5 separate regions of the Homo sapiens genome follow, and all the other regions are linked to region 1. The links are contacts of gene promoters, found by promoter capture Hi-C in blood cells and fetal thymus (Javierre and others, 2016). All regions are on one chromosome and are shown on one strand. Each heading gives the region's core, a stretch centred on a gene start or on the middle of the fragment in contact. The rest is flanking DNA. Distances are from core to core; before and after follow the strand shown.

Region 1 (2,750 bases), core at 159-2,658:
GTCTTGGGAATTATACTTCAAGAAGCCTATAAGGTTAAAGGGTGTTTATACTCACAGTGATATAGGAATAGCACTGGGTGGTTGCAGGAGGATGGAAAAATTCGAACAACAAATAAAAACAAGAACTAGGCAAAGAAACCATAGGATAACAGAAAACCCAAAATAAGAGAAAGAATGGCCAAAATCCCAGTCAGGATGACATGTCCATGACTCTTCTGGGCAAAGCCAAATAAGAGAGAAAGGGGGCAGTAACCAGGTGGGTCCCTGAATTTCCCTCCTTTTCCAGAATACCTAATAATTATTCCACTCTCTAATTAAAGAAACACCCACAAAATAGGAATGCTGTGTGGTCACAGGAGAAGGGGGAAAACATCAAGCTGTTAAAATTAGCTACTCCAACAAGAAGACTGGGCTGATGAGACCTTAACAAACAGGATTGGGGCTAGGCTGTCCCATGACGCTAGATTTGACCCATTTCCTACCCCAGACCTAATTATACACTCATTGCCACATTAAATCACACACCCACCAGTGCCAGGCCAATCCAAGCACGCCCACATTTAGTATAAAAATGGTTGGCACCCCAATTCTAAGAAATTCCCACCTTTTCCTAGAAAAACCTCATGATTATCCCACCCCCTAATTAGAAGAGCCCATAAAATTAGAAACCCAAACTCCATTGTGCATGACCCGCTCTCCCTCGTACGTCCGCATTTCCCTCTTCTCTTGGGAAAAGTACACTCTTCTCAAAAATGTGTACTTTTTCTTCCCAATAAAAGCTTCTTGCCTTTGGCTTCATTTTGACTCATCCCTGCATTCTTTCTCACGATGGTGTCACGAAGCTGGACTCCGGAAGCGGGCGGGGACTCACGGCCCCTGGAGACCTTCCTGAGCCCTGGGCAACACCAGTCCACACAGAGGAGGCAGACGTCCCACAGACGGAACCCCACGAGCATGTCCCGGGAATGGCTCCACGCGGGAAGCGGGGGTCCAGATCCACGCCAGTCCCAGGGACAGTGCCTGGCGTCAGGGTGGAGGAGGACGCAGTAACCAGGCGTAAGATTTTACTGGTACATGGGAATGTCACTGGGTCACTCAGAGGAGGCAAGCGGGGAACCTCGTGGCAGGGCCCCCTTTATCAAACTCGTTTACCTGGGTGCCTGGGCGAGTGCTCACAGCCTGCTTGTAGGGACGTTGAGGCATCCGAATAATAGGAAGTTTTAAAAATTTACAATCCAGTGTGTACACTTGCTCCGCTAAGATCATCTGAGATATACAGAAACATGGTGTGCATAATAAAAAAGGAAAAAGAGCCAAGCCTGGCCTCTTACGGGACAAGACTACATTACCTAGAAGGCAGTGGGCCGGCGCAGGAAAAGGCGTGGCAGGCGACCGCGACACAGGGGCGGGACTTCCGGCCTCGCTGGCGTGGACGTTTGTGGTGGGGCGTGTTGGTCCGCGCTCTCAGAACTGTGCTGGGAAGGATGGTAGGGCGACTGGGGCTCACCTCCGCACCGTTGTAGGACCCGGGGTAGGGTTTTGAGCCCGTGGGAGCTGCCCCACGCGGCCTCGTCCTGCCAACGGTCGGATGGCGGAGACGAAGGACGCAGCGCAGGTGAGCAGACTGGCTCGGCTCCCCGCGGCCACCCGGCCTCAGTGTCCCGGGCCCGACGAGCGGAAGGACGGCGTTTCAGGGTCGTCCTCAGTGCAGTCCCTGCCGTTGCTTCTTAGAGGCCTAGAAGGGGGTCGCGCGGTCCCGGGTCCGGAATGCAGGCCCGCGGTGGCGTGGGGAGCGTCCCCGTTTCTGGGGTGCGCGGCGTTGTGGTATGAAATAGGGCTTTTAGGGTCCCGGAACCCCTCACAGGTGAGAGGAGCGACCGCAGTCCTCCTCGTGGCTCTTCCAACCATGTCCTTTCTCGGGCCTGCGACCTTGAACAAGTCCCGTTACTGTCCTCGTCCTTCATTTTTGCGCGCGCAAAGTAGAAATATTTACTCTTCCCCCCCCCGGGGTTGAGGAAGCTTGAACGGCTCCCTGGGTGATGTGTGTGTGTCCGTCTCAGTGCACAGCACGGTCCGGGGACGTCGCTCAGGATGTTGTTTCCGGAGCTGCTCCCTGGGCCTGTGCTAGGTTTGGAGACTCAACCCCAGCAGGAGTCTGACCCTCTGGCCTCCTTGGCCTCCTGTCTCTACAACACGAAGGGCAGCGGCTGAAAGAGGTGGGAGGAGCGTTTCTGCGGTTGCTGCTATGCCAGGGCAGAAAAGGTGGTAGGGCAGGCTGAGGAATTTGTCTTTCAGTTTAGGGCAAGGGACGCTGGGTTGCAACTAACAGTATATTTTCCTGTTTAAGACATTTAGTTACAGGTGAAAAACGAGTCCATTAAAATGTTCAGTGGCGATGGTATGCAGGATGTAGTGTCCCTTTGGAGATAACACATGAGGCCCAGGGTTACTCTCTAGCAGTCACTCTGATTACTTTCATGATAGCCCAGATTACTGTCAGCTCCTGTCGTAGTTGTTAATTTCTCATCCACCTCTCCCTCCTTTGCTTTATTTCTGACTCCCTCTGGTGTCCGCTGCTTAAAGAGGTCTCGTCTGTTGCACCGTTTAAAGCTGACCAGAGTCTCTTTGGTCTCCTTGCTCTGTTTTCTTGTCATCTGAATCTTTAAGGCCATCTGACATTGCCTTACTCATTTATTTAGTTGCCTGTTTAGGATCTTTTTCCAACCCTGGAATGTGAGTGCCTGTTGCTT
Region 2 (2,750 bases), core at 186-2,685, 910 kb before region 1:
CAGGCTGCTCATCCAGCCTGAGGGACTGGATGATTCTCACCAGTCGCCACAGGGGAGCAGCCTCAACAACCTGTGAACACAGAGGAACTCAATCCCTTCCTCCTTTCACCCGGTGTCCCCTTTCTTCCCCTCTCTGTTGCCACCCTCCCCTCCTCAGTTAGGTGCTAGGCTCTTCCCAATAGCCCCAGGCATCCCAGCTGGTCTTCTTTACCCTCAAGCCATAACTGCCCACACCTGGCTGAGTCCCTGCCCATTCCTCAGTCCAATTCATAGGCCCTGTCCACAGCCCAGGACGCCAACAACGTCAGGTCCAGTGACATGACCAACCTGGGACATCCCAGACTCTTGATCTTTCCCCTGAAGGAAACCTGCTTTCCTTTCAATTCTCCTTTCTATCTACAGCAGCTCTCTTCTTCCAGGCGCTCAGGCTGAACAACATGGGGTACTTAGTTCTTCAAACAGCCCACACCTGATGCATCCGCAGATCCACCAGAATTCACCTGGTCGCCCACCTCCACTGCTGCCCAGACTGTGGCAGTCGGTTCTTCCCTTCATGCCGACACCCCTGCATGTCTGTTCTCCACGCAACAAACGGTGGAACCGTTTTAAAGTCCTCAGAGGATGTCCTGATTCTGTTCAAAACTTCTATGTCTCCCGACGCCCTCGAGATAAAGCCCACTCCCTCGCCTGATACTGCAGCCGCACACATCCCCTCTACTCCAGCTCCACATCGAGAGAGCTCAGTCCCAGAAGCACCTGGGCTTCGGCTCCCCTCCCAGGTTTTGCACACGCAGGACTCTCCCCTCGGAGCCTCCTTCGGGACCTCAGCCCCCTGGCTGCCCGAACTCGGGAGCTCACCAGTGCCCTGGACGCAGGAGTTTGCACTGACCCCCGCAACCCCCCCAGGGCAGGGAGAGGAAAGACGACTAGGCGAGGTCTAGGAAGCGGCCTCCCTCCGTGAGGGCGCGGTCTGTGTGAGCAGGGACTCCCCTGCTTCCCCGACGCGGGCTTGTCAGCGCCACCGCCGCCAGCGGAACCCGCAGCTGGGAGGGAAGAAAGGCGTGGACCACCCAGCCTTTCCCCGCCAGCAGCGTCCCGGGGCCGCCCCGCGCCTCAGTCTCCCCGGCCATCATGGACGTGGAACGCCCAGCGCGCAGCCTCCTGGGCTGCCGCACGGTGGGAGAGCGCATGGCTCCCGCCGCGGCCCGACAGTCCCCTGGACGCCCACGACGCACTCTGAGAAACAGAGGCTTGGGGGCGCGGCCGGCGGCCGGCGCCCTTGATCACGACGCGTGCGCAGGGCGGGCCCGACGCGGGCCCTCAGCCAGTACCTTCCTCGCCGCCAGCCTCGAGCACCAGGAACCCCCTGGAAACCGGACCCGACCCGCGGTCCCCAGCCCAGACCACCGGTGTGGCCTGACGCGGGCGGCGAAGTGACAGTCCCACCGCCGGAAGTCCAGCCCTTCGGTTCTCATTGGCCCAGTGCGCGCCGCGGACGCTTGCGTACAGCCTTCCGGGTCACGTGGTTCCCGCCTGTTTCCCTGCGTGGAGGCGGGGCCACTACCGGTCTCCTTGGCAACGTCCAAGCCCCTGCCGCGCGGGGCGCTGGGAAATGGAGTCGCGCGGCGGCCTCGGGTTTTCAAGGGCTTGGTGGCGCTGGTGGATTCGCCCGGTGTGTAGTCCTGCCTTCGGCATTCCAGGTGTCCTCCCAAGCAGTCCCGGAGACTAAACCCTGCAGGTGCGAAAGCAGAAACTGCCGAGGTTCCAAGAGGCAACACCAGCAGTGAGCACGGAGGAGAAAATGCACCGGGTAGCGCAGGTGGAGGTGGAGGAGCCGATGCCTGGAGCTCCGGGTTCCCTTCCCAGCTCTGCCTCTCACTGACTGTGCGTCCTGGGCGCGGGTTTGACCTCTCTGTGTCAATGTCCCGTAAAGGTTTAAGGTCCGTTTTCAACCTTTACACCAAGAATTCTCAGCCCGTAAGCCTACATTTGTCTTAAGTATGAGACTGTTCCTCGACACTTGCCCAAAGCATCTGTTTTCCTTGTAATTTGGATGGGCAGAAGTTAATTCCCCAGATTTGCTTGTCCTTAGACCATCTAGATCTTGTCTTGCCCCACACATCACAATATTCATTCTTTTTTCCTTTTTTCTTGGGACTCATTTAAGTTTTTTTTTTTTTTTTTTAACAGGGTCTTTGTTCTGTTGCCCGTGCTGGAGTGCAGTGGCACAATCTCGGCTCACTGCAACCTCTGCCTTCAGGTTCAAGTGATCCCCCCGCCTCAGCCTCCGTAGTAGCTGGGACCACAGGTGTGCGCCACCATGCCTGGCTAATTTTTGTATTTTTTAGTAGAGATGGAGTTTCACCATGTTGGCCAGGCTGGTCTTGAACTCCTGACCTCAGGTGATCCGCCCACCTCGTTCTCCCAAAGTGCTGGGATTACAGGCCAATTTAAGTGTCTTTGACACATAAAAACGAAAGGCAGAGCAGTCTCAATGTAGACTGTCTTGTTTGGCAGATAATAAAAGGTTCTTTGTCTTGTTTTTGGAACCTGTAGACAGTTCTCAGCTGTCCAGTTCCTTAACTCTTTTTGCCTCCCTCCCTCTATACCTACCTCCATCTATAACTATCTCTCTGTCAACTGTCAGCTATAACTGTCCACCTAATTGATTCTACTTGTAAATCCTTGTAGAGCAAGGGAGCTCATCATGTTTGGAATGTTTTAATATAAATTTTGCTACTTTGAAAGAA
Region 3 (2,750 bases), core at 154-2,653, 890 kb after region 1:
TGGTGTCCGTTTGTATTGAATAATTTGCTACATTTGTAAAATGTAAGAGGTATATATAATATATGTATATTTCTAACGTAAAAACAATTTTTTTCTTTTCAAGATTTTTTCTTAAAAAGATGAGAGAAACATATTTTTTCAGGAAAAACAAACTTTAAAAAAAAAAGAGGAGAAATAAAACCTTTTCTCCCCTTTCCCCATCCTCTATCTATCCCTGTTTCCCAGGAACAAATCAAAAGGTGGATTATCTTCTGAAGAATGGAAACTGTTAGTCCAGAATGATGTCTTTTTCTCAATGCAGTGAGTTATAGATTCTCTAGTTTTCTCCCTAGGGATGGGAAGGGGGCATTGACGCAAGCCTGGAGAGGAGCCCGGGGAGCAGGGTCATGAAGTTTTTTCTTCAGTGAAGGAGGAATACAATCAAGGGTTTTGTATTCAGAATGTTGTGCAATATTTTGGAATAGGACATTGGTGTGTTTAGAGATTTTAGTTTAAAAACAAAACAAAAAGATTGATCAAATCTGTACAGTTTCTATTGTTCCAGATTTTTTAAAGTTTGTATTAAAAGCATGATACATAATAAAAATAAATAAATAAATAAAACTAAAAAGTAAAATGAAATTCTTCATCTATGTTAATGGATTTGCCACCTTCTTTGCCATAGACTGGAATGACATCAGCTACCTGAGACCAAAATAAAAGTGTGGGTTGCAAACCCTGGCACCTACCTTTTTAGATTCCGCAGCCTGCAGTAGGGACTTAGCCTGTCTGAACCTCAGCTTCCTTCTTTCTTCTTCTTTTTTTTTGAGACGAAGTCTCGCTCTGTCACCCAGGCTGGAGTGCAGTGGTGCGATCTCAGCTCACTGCAACCCTCGCCTCCCAGGTTCAAGCCATTCTCCCGCCTCAGCCTTCCAAGTAGCTGGAAGTGCATGCCACCATGCTCGGCTAATTTTTGTATTTTTAGTAGAGACGGGGGTTTCGCCATATTGGCCAGGCTGGTCTCGAACTCCTGACCTCAGGTGATCCACCCGCCTCGGCCTCCCTAAGCGCTGGGATGACAGGTGCCCGGACTCAAGTTCCTTCTTTCTAAGCCTGTGGGCTCGGCCTCATCCCCTGAGCAAGAAAAAAGTCCCACCCCTGAGTTACTGGAAGCGCCCACCGCCATGCACTGAGGCTGTAGTGGGCGGGGCTCGGGGCAGCAGCCCGGCGCTCCTCGGGCCCCCAGGGGTCAGCGCCCTGCGGACCTAGCGTGTGCAGACGCTTAGCCTTCTGGGAGTTGTAGTTTCGATGACCCAGGCTTTGCAAGCTTTAGTCGCGGTGCCGGCGAGCGCGCAGCGCCCCCTGGGAGTCGTAGTTCCTAAGAACCAGGCGGGCCCGATGCGCAGGCGCAGTCCACCCCGGCCTGGTGCGCGGGCTCCTCCGCAGCAGCAGAAGTCTTGACCTTAGCTCGTCTAAGGAAGGAGGCACCAGGGTCTGCGTTGGCCCAGGAGGACCCGAGACTGAGTAGAAGCGGAGCCGACTGCACCAGGCTAGGAGGGGGCCGGCCAGCGCGTTCGAAGGTGATACCGGGAGGCGAGAGCAACGGTGTGTAGTGTGCGCGTGTTCCTGCAGGTGTGTGACCGCGTGTGAGCCCGTCCCCGAGTGCCATTGTGTCTGCACCTGTTCACTTAGCGGTGTCAGCCCGTATAGGTGTGTGACTGCCTGTGAGCCCGTCCCTGAGTAACACAGCGTCTGCACCTGGTCACTCGACGGTACCAGCAGGTGCAGGTGTGTGACTGCCTGTGAGCCTGTCACTGCATCTGCACCTGCTTACTCGGCGGTGCCAGCCCGTCACTGTGTCTGTACCTGCTCACTTGGCGGTGCCAGGCCGTGCAGGTGTGTGACTGGCTGTGAGCCTGTCCCTGAGTGTCACAGCGTCTGCACCTGCTCACTCGACGGTACCAGCAGGTGCAGGTGTGTGACTGCCTGTGAGCCCGTCCCTGAGTGTCACAGCGTCTGCCCCTGCTCACTTGGCGGTGCCAGCCCATCACTGTGTCTGTACCTGCTCACTCGGCGGTGCCAGGCCTTGCAGGTGTGTGACTGCCTGTGAGCCCGTCCCCGAGTGTCACTGTGTCTGCACCTGCTCACTCAGTGGTGCCAGCCCAGGCAGGTGACTGCAGGTAAAGGCATGTAACACTTTATCGGTGTGTTATGTGCTCGTTCATGTGAAGCGGTGTCTGCATATCACAGCATGTCACATACACGTGTGGCTGCCTTTGGGCAAGTCTGAAAGTTCTCCTGGATGTGAGGTGTGTGACCCCACGTGTGCATGTCTGGGTGTGCCGCCGTGTAGGCTGGCTCGGCCCGTGTGCCTGCCAGCACAATGATGGGTGACCTGGCTGTGCGAGCCTGTAGAGTGCCGTGCTGTCTGAAGTGTGTGCATCTGCACATGATGGAGACGCTGCACATGTGGGCTTTGGCTATGCTGGAGCTCTATCCACCGAGTGTGACTGCACATGTGTCCAGCCATCCCCTGTGGGTGTGTCCCAGTAATGGCCGGCCTGTGTGGAGCAGGTGGCATGTGTGACCTTGTGCGTCTCTGTGCACCTCTTCACACAGGGAGCTACGTGTGGGGCTGGGTGTGTGTGTAGCTACGTGTGCCCGGGACCCTGTGTGCATGTGTGAGTGTGGCTGCAGGTGATGGCTTCCCACCTGCCTCCTTGCATGGGGGTTAGGAGGGCGACTGTGTGTCCCTGGATATGGGTTTGGGT
Region 4 (2,750 bases), core at 90-2,589, 800 kb before region 1:
GCTGAGGTGAGAGCTCCCTAGTACAAATTGGGAAAAATTGGTACAAAAAGAGCTCGTGGAGGCCGGGTGCAGTGGCTCGGGTCTGTAATCCTAGCACTTTGGGAGGCCAAGGTGGGAGGATCACTTGAGCCCAGAAGTTCAAGACCAGCCTGGGCCATATAGCGAGACCCCGTCTCTAGCTATTCATTTATTTTAGCTTACAGCATCTGGTCTATGTTGTTTTTTGAGACGGAGTCTTGCTCTGTCACCCAGGCTGGAGTGTGCAGTGGCACGACCTCAGCTCACTGTAACTTCTGCCTCCCCGGTTCAAGCGATTCTCCTGCCTCAGCCTCCCGAGTAGCTGGGATTATAGGCACACGCCAACAAGCCTAATTTTTGTATTTTCAGTAGAGACGGGGTTTCACCATGTTGGTCAGGCTGGTCTCGAACTCCTGACCTCGTGATCTGCCCGCCTCGGCCTCCCAAAGTTCTGGGATTACAGGCGTGAGCCACCGCGCCCGGTTTATTTATTTATTTTAGCCAACAGCACTCGGTGTTCCCAGACGGTCTCCCAAGTACTAACCAGGCCCGACCCTGCTTAGCTTCTGAGATCCCGACTCAATTTTTTTTTTTTTTTTTTGAGACGGAGTCTCGTTCTGTCGCCCCAGGCTGGAGTGCAGTGTCGCGATCTCGGCTCACTGCAAGCTCCGCCTCCCAGGTTCAAGCGATTCTCCTGCCTCAGCCTCCCGAGTAGCTGGGACTACAGGCGCCCGCCACCACGCCCGGCTAATTTTTTGTATTTTTAGTAGAGACGGGGTTTCTCCGTGTTAGCCAGGATGGTCTCGATCTCCTGACCTCGTGATCCGCCCGCCTCGACCTCCCAAAGTGCTGGGATTACAGGCGTGAGTCACCGCGCCCGGCCCCCGACTCTATTTTAAAAACCGCGTGGATTCCAGCTTGGTGGGTGTTCCACAGCGCGTGGGTGTGAGACGCAGCTCAGTGGCGTCAACTCAGCAAGGTTCCAGGGTGGTAAAGACGGCCTGGGGCCGGAGGAGGACCGCCAGGGAGAAGCTACGTTGGCCCGACTTGCGTCCGCGACCCGGGCAGCCCCAGGCGCCTGTGTAGCTGTTGGGTGTGTGCCGCAGAGGCTGGCCGGGTGCAGGAAGGGGCGGAGCGCATCCATGGCAACGCAGGACGCCCGAGTAGCTTGGCTGTGGCGCCGTCCCCATGGGAACCAGAAGGCGCGCGCCCGCAGCCGCGGCATAGTTACGCAGGCGCAGTGGGGAGAAACGCGACGCCTTGGGCCGCTCTGCCGAATGCAACCGCGCCCCCAGGAGACCCGGTGCCCGCCCTCCTACCATTCCACGCGGCTCGAGCCCGCGTGCGGGCCTCTTTCAGGCCGCTCCTAGTGGACGCAGAGGCGGGCCGAGGACGGTGAGTGACGCCGACGGACACCCTCGGCCAGGCACAGATCCGCCCTCCGGCTCCAACCACTCCCGCCGCGCGGGGCAGGACGGGCCTCGGCCCTGAGCTGGGCCCTCTGGGACCACCGAGAGATAGGCCTCCGCGCCGTCCAGAGCGGCCCGGAAGTGGCCCTGCACGGGCCAGAGGCGACCGTGGTCGGGACGGAAATGGCTCCCGTTTGCTGTTCTCTCGGTGAACGCGAGCCTTATGGCGATCAGTTCTGTGGCATCGTTCCTCCTGCTCGTTTATTCTTTCACTCATTCACTCATGCCCTGCCGCGCCATCATTTCTTCCCACATTCATTTATTCGTTCATCAGTCCCCAGCCCCGGGTAGTTTCGGAGCTCACCAGGCTGGGCTCGCCTCCCAGCCTCCGGAGCTGCCCGCACAGGCCTCGCGCCACCTGGCCGCAGCTTCCTCCCCTTTATCCACTCCGTATTTGTTTGTCCAGCCTAGGCCTTGGGGGTTGTGGGGGAGACACAAGTACCCGTGACTGGTCGGACAAGTGCCCGTTGTTGGGGGCGTGGGCGCTGGGACTGACGCGGGAGGTGGCTCTGATCATGTCGAGGTGAGGAGGAGGCGTTGAGGCTCAGAAAGGGCACGCAGCGTGGACGTGAGGACGTCGGGGAGGCTGGAGCAGTGAGGCCGACAGGAAGGACCTTACGGGGCTCACATGCTATCCCACGACGAGGACGGACTCAGGACGGCAGCCCTGATAGATGCGGCTGGGGGCTGGCGGGTCGGGGTCGCACACCACAGGATGGAGGGGCAGCGGTGCCTGGCTCCGCCTTAAGAAACATGGGCCCTTGGGGGACCCGGATTTCTGATACTTCAATACACAAATATGGATTTTTATTGAAATCAGATGTCGTTTTTTTAAAATTTAACTTTTGATTTGAGGTAATTATAAATTCACATGCAGTAACAAGTAATGCATACCCTATGTACGCTTTACCCAATTCCCCTAAAGGTGGCATCTTGAAAAACTAGAGGCCAGGTGCGGTGGCTCATGTCTGTAATCCCAGCACTTTGGGAGGCCAAGGCGGGTGGATCCCTTGAGCTCAGGAGTTAAAGACCAGCCTGAGCAACATGGTGAAACCCCATCTGTACTGAAAACACAAAAATTAGGCGGGTGTGGAGGCTGGTGCCTGTAATCCCAGCTACTCGGGAGTCTCAGGCAGGAGAATCGCTTGTACCCAGGAGGCGGAGGTCGCGGTGAGCCCACATCACGCCACTGCACTCCAACCTGGGCAACAGAGCGAGACTCTGTCTCAAAAAAAGAGAAGAGAAAGAAAAACTAGAGTACAA
Region 5 (2,750 bases), core at 106-2,605, 570 kb before region 1:
CACTTTCCAAGCCCTCTTCCCTTGTGACCTACCAAAGCTTTATATTATTGTACTTCATTTTATTTTTACTCACGTGAAATGTGTATATTTTGTGTTCTTAAAGTCGCAGTTTGGAATTGCCTGAATGATAGAATGAGAAAATAAATATTGATGTTTTCAGGACATTTCTTTTTTTTCTTTCTTTTTTTTTTTTTTTTGAGGCAGAGTCTCGCCCTGTTGCCCAGGCTGGAGTGCAGTGGCGCTATCGCGGCTCACTGCAAGCTCTGCCTCCCGGGTTCATGCCATTCTCCTGCCTCAGCCTCCCAAGTAGCTGGGACTACAGGCGCCCGCCACCACGCCTGGCTAATTTTTTGTATTTTTAATAGAGACGGGGTTTCACCGTGTCAGCCAGGATGGTCTCGATCTCCTGACCTTGTGGTCCACCTGCCTCAGCCTCCCAAAGTGCTGGGATTACAGGCGTGACCCACTGCTCCCAGCCAATGTTTTCAGGACATTTCTATTTTCCCTTCACGAAGTGCTCTTTGATTACTTTGCCCATTTTTTTTCTTTTTATGTGCTGTTCTGTAAGAATCCTCTGTAGTTCTTGGGCAGTAATTCTTTGTGCTTTTAAATCTTATTTTCTCTCTGTAAGAATCCTCTATAGCTCTTGGGCAATAATTCTTTGTGCTTTTAAGTCCTATTTTCTCCCTATCTGCCACTTGCATTTTGTCTCTTATTGTGTCTTTTATTGGATGGAAAATTTGAATGCTGATATCAGACTTCTTAATCCTTGTCTGTTTTTTATTTTTTGGTTTTTGTTTTTTGTTTTTAAGACATGGTCTCTTTTGCCCAATCTGGAATGCAGTGGCACAATTACAGCTCACTGCAGCCTCAGCCTTCTGTGTGGGCTCAAGTGATAACTCCCACTTCAGCCTCCCAGAGTGCTGGGATTACAGGCATGACCCCCAATGCTTGGCCATATGGTTTTTTGGTTAAGTTTTGTTGATCAAAGTCTGCCACACTTATGAAGGCATACTACATTATTTAAACTTTGACTTTATGTTGCAGCCTGTATCCTTCTGAAATGTAAATACACGCGCACACACACACACACACACACATATACACATATACATGTATATATATTTAAATTGCCTAGAATGTAGACATATATGTATGTATGTATTCTGAGGCAAGGGTCTATTTTCATTTTACCTTAAAAAATAGAAAGAAGGCTGGGCACAATGGCTCATCCCTGTATTTGCAGCATTTTGGGAGGCTGAGGTGGGATAATTGCTTGAAGTTTTTGAGATTGAGGCTTCAGTGAACCAAGATCACACCACTGCACTTCAGCCTGAATGACAGAGCGAGACCCGATCCCACCAAATGAATGAACGAATGAATGGACAACCAGTTGTCTTAATATTGTGAAGTCTGAATGGACAAGGATGGTGACAGGAAGATTGATATGCATGAAGACACATGCAACCATTTACAGAATGCCCTTCATCCCCTAGCCTTGGAGACTGCTTTGTACATGATCCAGTTTTTTTTTTTTTTTTTTTTTGAGACGGAGTCTTGCTCTGTGGCCCAGGCTGGAGTGCAGTGGCACGATCTTGGCTCACTGCAAGCTCCGCCTCCCGGGTTCGCGCCATTCTCCTGCCTCAGCCTCCCGAGTAGCTGGGACTACAGGCGCCCGCCACCACGCCTGGCTAATTGTTTGTATTTTTTTAGTAGAGACGGGGTTTCACCACGTTAGCCAGGATGGTCTCAATCTCCTGACCTTGTGATCTGCCCACCTCGGCCTCCCAAAGTGCTGGGATTACAGGCGTGACCACCGCGCCTGGCCGACATGATCCAGTTTTTATAACAACCATGCAGGGCAGTCTTTGACAGTTTTTGTTTTGTTTTGTTTTTTGAGATGGAGTCTCACTCTGCCGCGTAGGCTGGAGTGCAGTGGTGTGATCTCAGCTCACTGCAACCTCTGCCTACCAGGTTGAAGTGATTCTCCTGCCTCAGCCTCCAGAGTAGCTGGGACTACAGGCATGTGCCACCACGCCTGGCTGATTTTTTTTGTATTTTTAGTAGAGACGGTGTTTCACCATGTTGGTCAGGCTGGTCTTGAACTCCTGACTTCAAATGATCCACCTGCCTCCACTTCCCAAAGTGCTGGGATTACAGGAGTGAACCACTGTGCCCCGCCAGGTCATTGACAGTTCTAAGACTTAGACCCAGAACTTTTAGGTCACCAAGCCTGTGCTTTGTCCTATCCATGAATGCAGAACTTTGATGACAGAGCTGGGGTGAGAACTGTTCCTTCAGTGCTGTTGTAAGCTCATTGTGAAGTCAGAGCTTTGGAAATGTGTACTGATGGGCAGTGTGTGACAGGGACAAGAATGCAGTGGCTGGGATGGAATTCTAGGGGGAGCAGGGATGCTTGGCCTCTGGTCTCTCACATCTCAAACTAATCCTTTTGGTGATGATTTATCCCGAGGTCCATTCCTCCTGCCTGCTCTCTAGGAAGATGAAAATGCTACATGGCTCTTTTTGAATCTGTTCTTGGTTCCATTCCTTGGCTACGATTTTACCTCTTCCTTGTATAAATTTGAATTTAAAAGAGAAAACAAGTAAAAAAATACACATCTTTACACCTAGCCCATCATCATTGTCTGTTTCTCTTACAGATAAAGCTTCATATACCTAAGTCTGCATTTTTCTTCTTTTTGCAGTTTGGGATATGAGATTGAAAATGACGACTCGGAATTTTCCTG

Evidence for each region. Contacts are between HindIII fragments. The CHiCAGO score rates a contact against its expected background, and 5 or more counts as called.
Region 2: the fragment with the promoter of ZNF324 here is called in contact with the fragment with the promoter of ZNF550 in region 1 in 13 of 17 cell types (total CD8 T cells, non-activated CD4 T cells, neutrophils and 10 more); the score reaches 13.1 in total CD8 T cells.
Region 3: the fragment with the promoter of ZNF835 here is called in contact with the fragment with the promoter of ZNF550 in region 1 in 9 of 17 cell types (neutrophils, monocytes, naive B cells and 6 more); the score reaches 9.4 in neutrophils.
Region 4: the fragment with the promoter of ZNF497 here is called in contact with the fragment with the promoter of ZNF550 in region 1 in 9 of 17 cell types (total CD8 T cells, non-activated CD4 T cells, naive CD4 T cells and 6 more); the score reaches 15.0 in total CD8 T cells.
Region 5: a contact is called between a fragment that was not itself captured here and the fragment with the promoter of ZNF550 in region 1, in 4 of 17 cell types (naive CD4 T cells, naive CD8 T cells, total CD8 T cells and 1 more). The highest score is 6.7, in naive CD4 T cells.

What each region holds. Positions count from the first base shown.
Region 1 is chr19:57,558,521-57,561,270 of GRCh38, reverse strand. ZNF550 (zinc finger protein 550) reads left to right here and starts at 1,408. Exons shown (of 4, transcript NM_001397372.1): 1 at 1,408-1,615. The coding sequence starts at 1,589. LOC124904781 (a long non-coding RNA gene) reads right to left here and starts at 1,329. Exons shown (of 2, transcript XR_007067357.1): 1 at 1,153-1,329. RefSeq lists enhancers at 1,047-1,156, 101-1,300, 1,787-1,836, 1,278-2,142, 2,287-2,366. The HindIII fragment of the contact is 1,240 bases long and covers 782-2,021 here.
Region 2 is chr19:58,465,765-58,468,514 of GRCh38, reverse strand. ZNF324 (zinc finger protein 324) reads right to left here and starts at 1,435. Exons shown (of 4, transcript NM_014347.3): 1 at 1,332-1,435. RefSeq lists enhancers at 1-54, 473-1,087, 1,088-1,704 and silencers at 1,186-1,315, 1,396-1,445. The HindIII fragment of the contact is 6,014 bases long and covers 1-2,750 here.
Region 3 is chr19:56,670,410-56,673,159 of GRCh38, reverse strand. It overlaps ZNF835 (zinc finger protein 835), which reads left to right and starts at 1,403. Exons shown (of 2, transcript NM_001005850.3): 1 at 1,403-1,584. LOC105372473 (a long non-coding RNA gene) reads right to left here and starts at 1,181. Exons shown (of 4, transcript XR_936110.4): 1 at 729-1,181. The HindIII fragment of the contact is 4,177 bases long and covers 1,309-2,750 here.
Region 4 is chr19:58,361,340-58,364,089 of GRCh38, reverse strand. It overlaps ZNF497 (zinc finger protein 497), which reads left to right and starts at 1,339. Exons shown (of 3, transcript NM_198458.3): 1 at 1,339-1,413. ZNF497-AS1 (ZNF497 antisense RNA 1) reads right to left here and starts at 1,464. Exons shown (of 3, transcript NR_136527.1): 1 at 1,338-1,464. It also overlaps the pseudogene RNA5SP473. RefSeq lists enhancers at 1,645-1,774, 1,504-2,052. The HindIII fragment of the contact is 6,825 bases long and covers 1-2,750 here.
Region 5 is chr19:58,129,470-58,132,219 of GRCh38, reverse strand. It overlaps ZNF329 (zinc finger protein 329), which reads left to right. Exons shown (of 4, transcript NM_024620.4): 4 at 2,709-2,750. The coding sequence starts at 2,717. Among named protein-coding and RNA genes, the nearest start is that of ZNF329, 20 kb to the left of the region's middle. The HindIII fragment of the contact is 2,632 bases long and covers 40-2,671 here.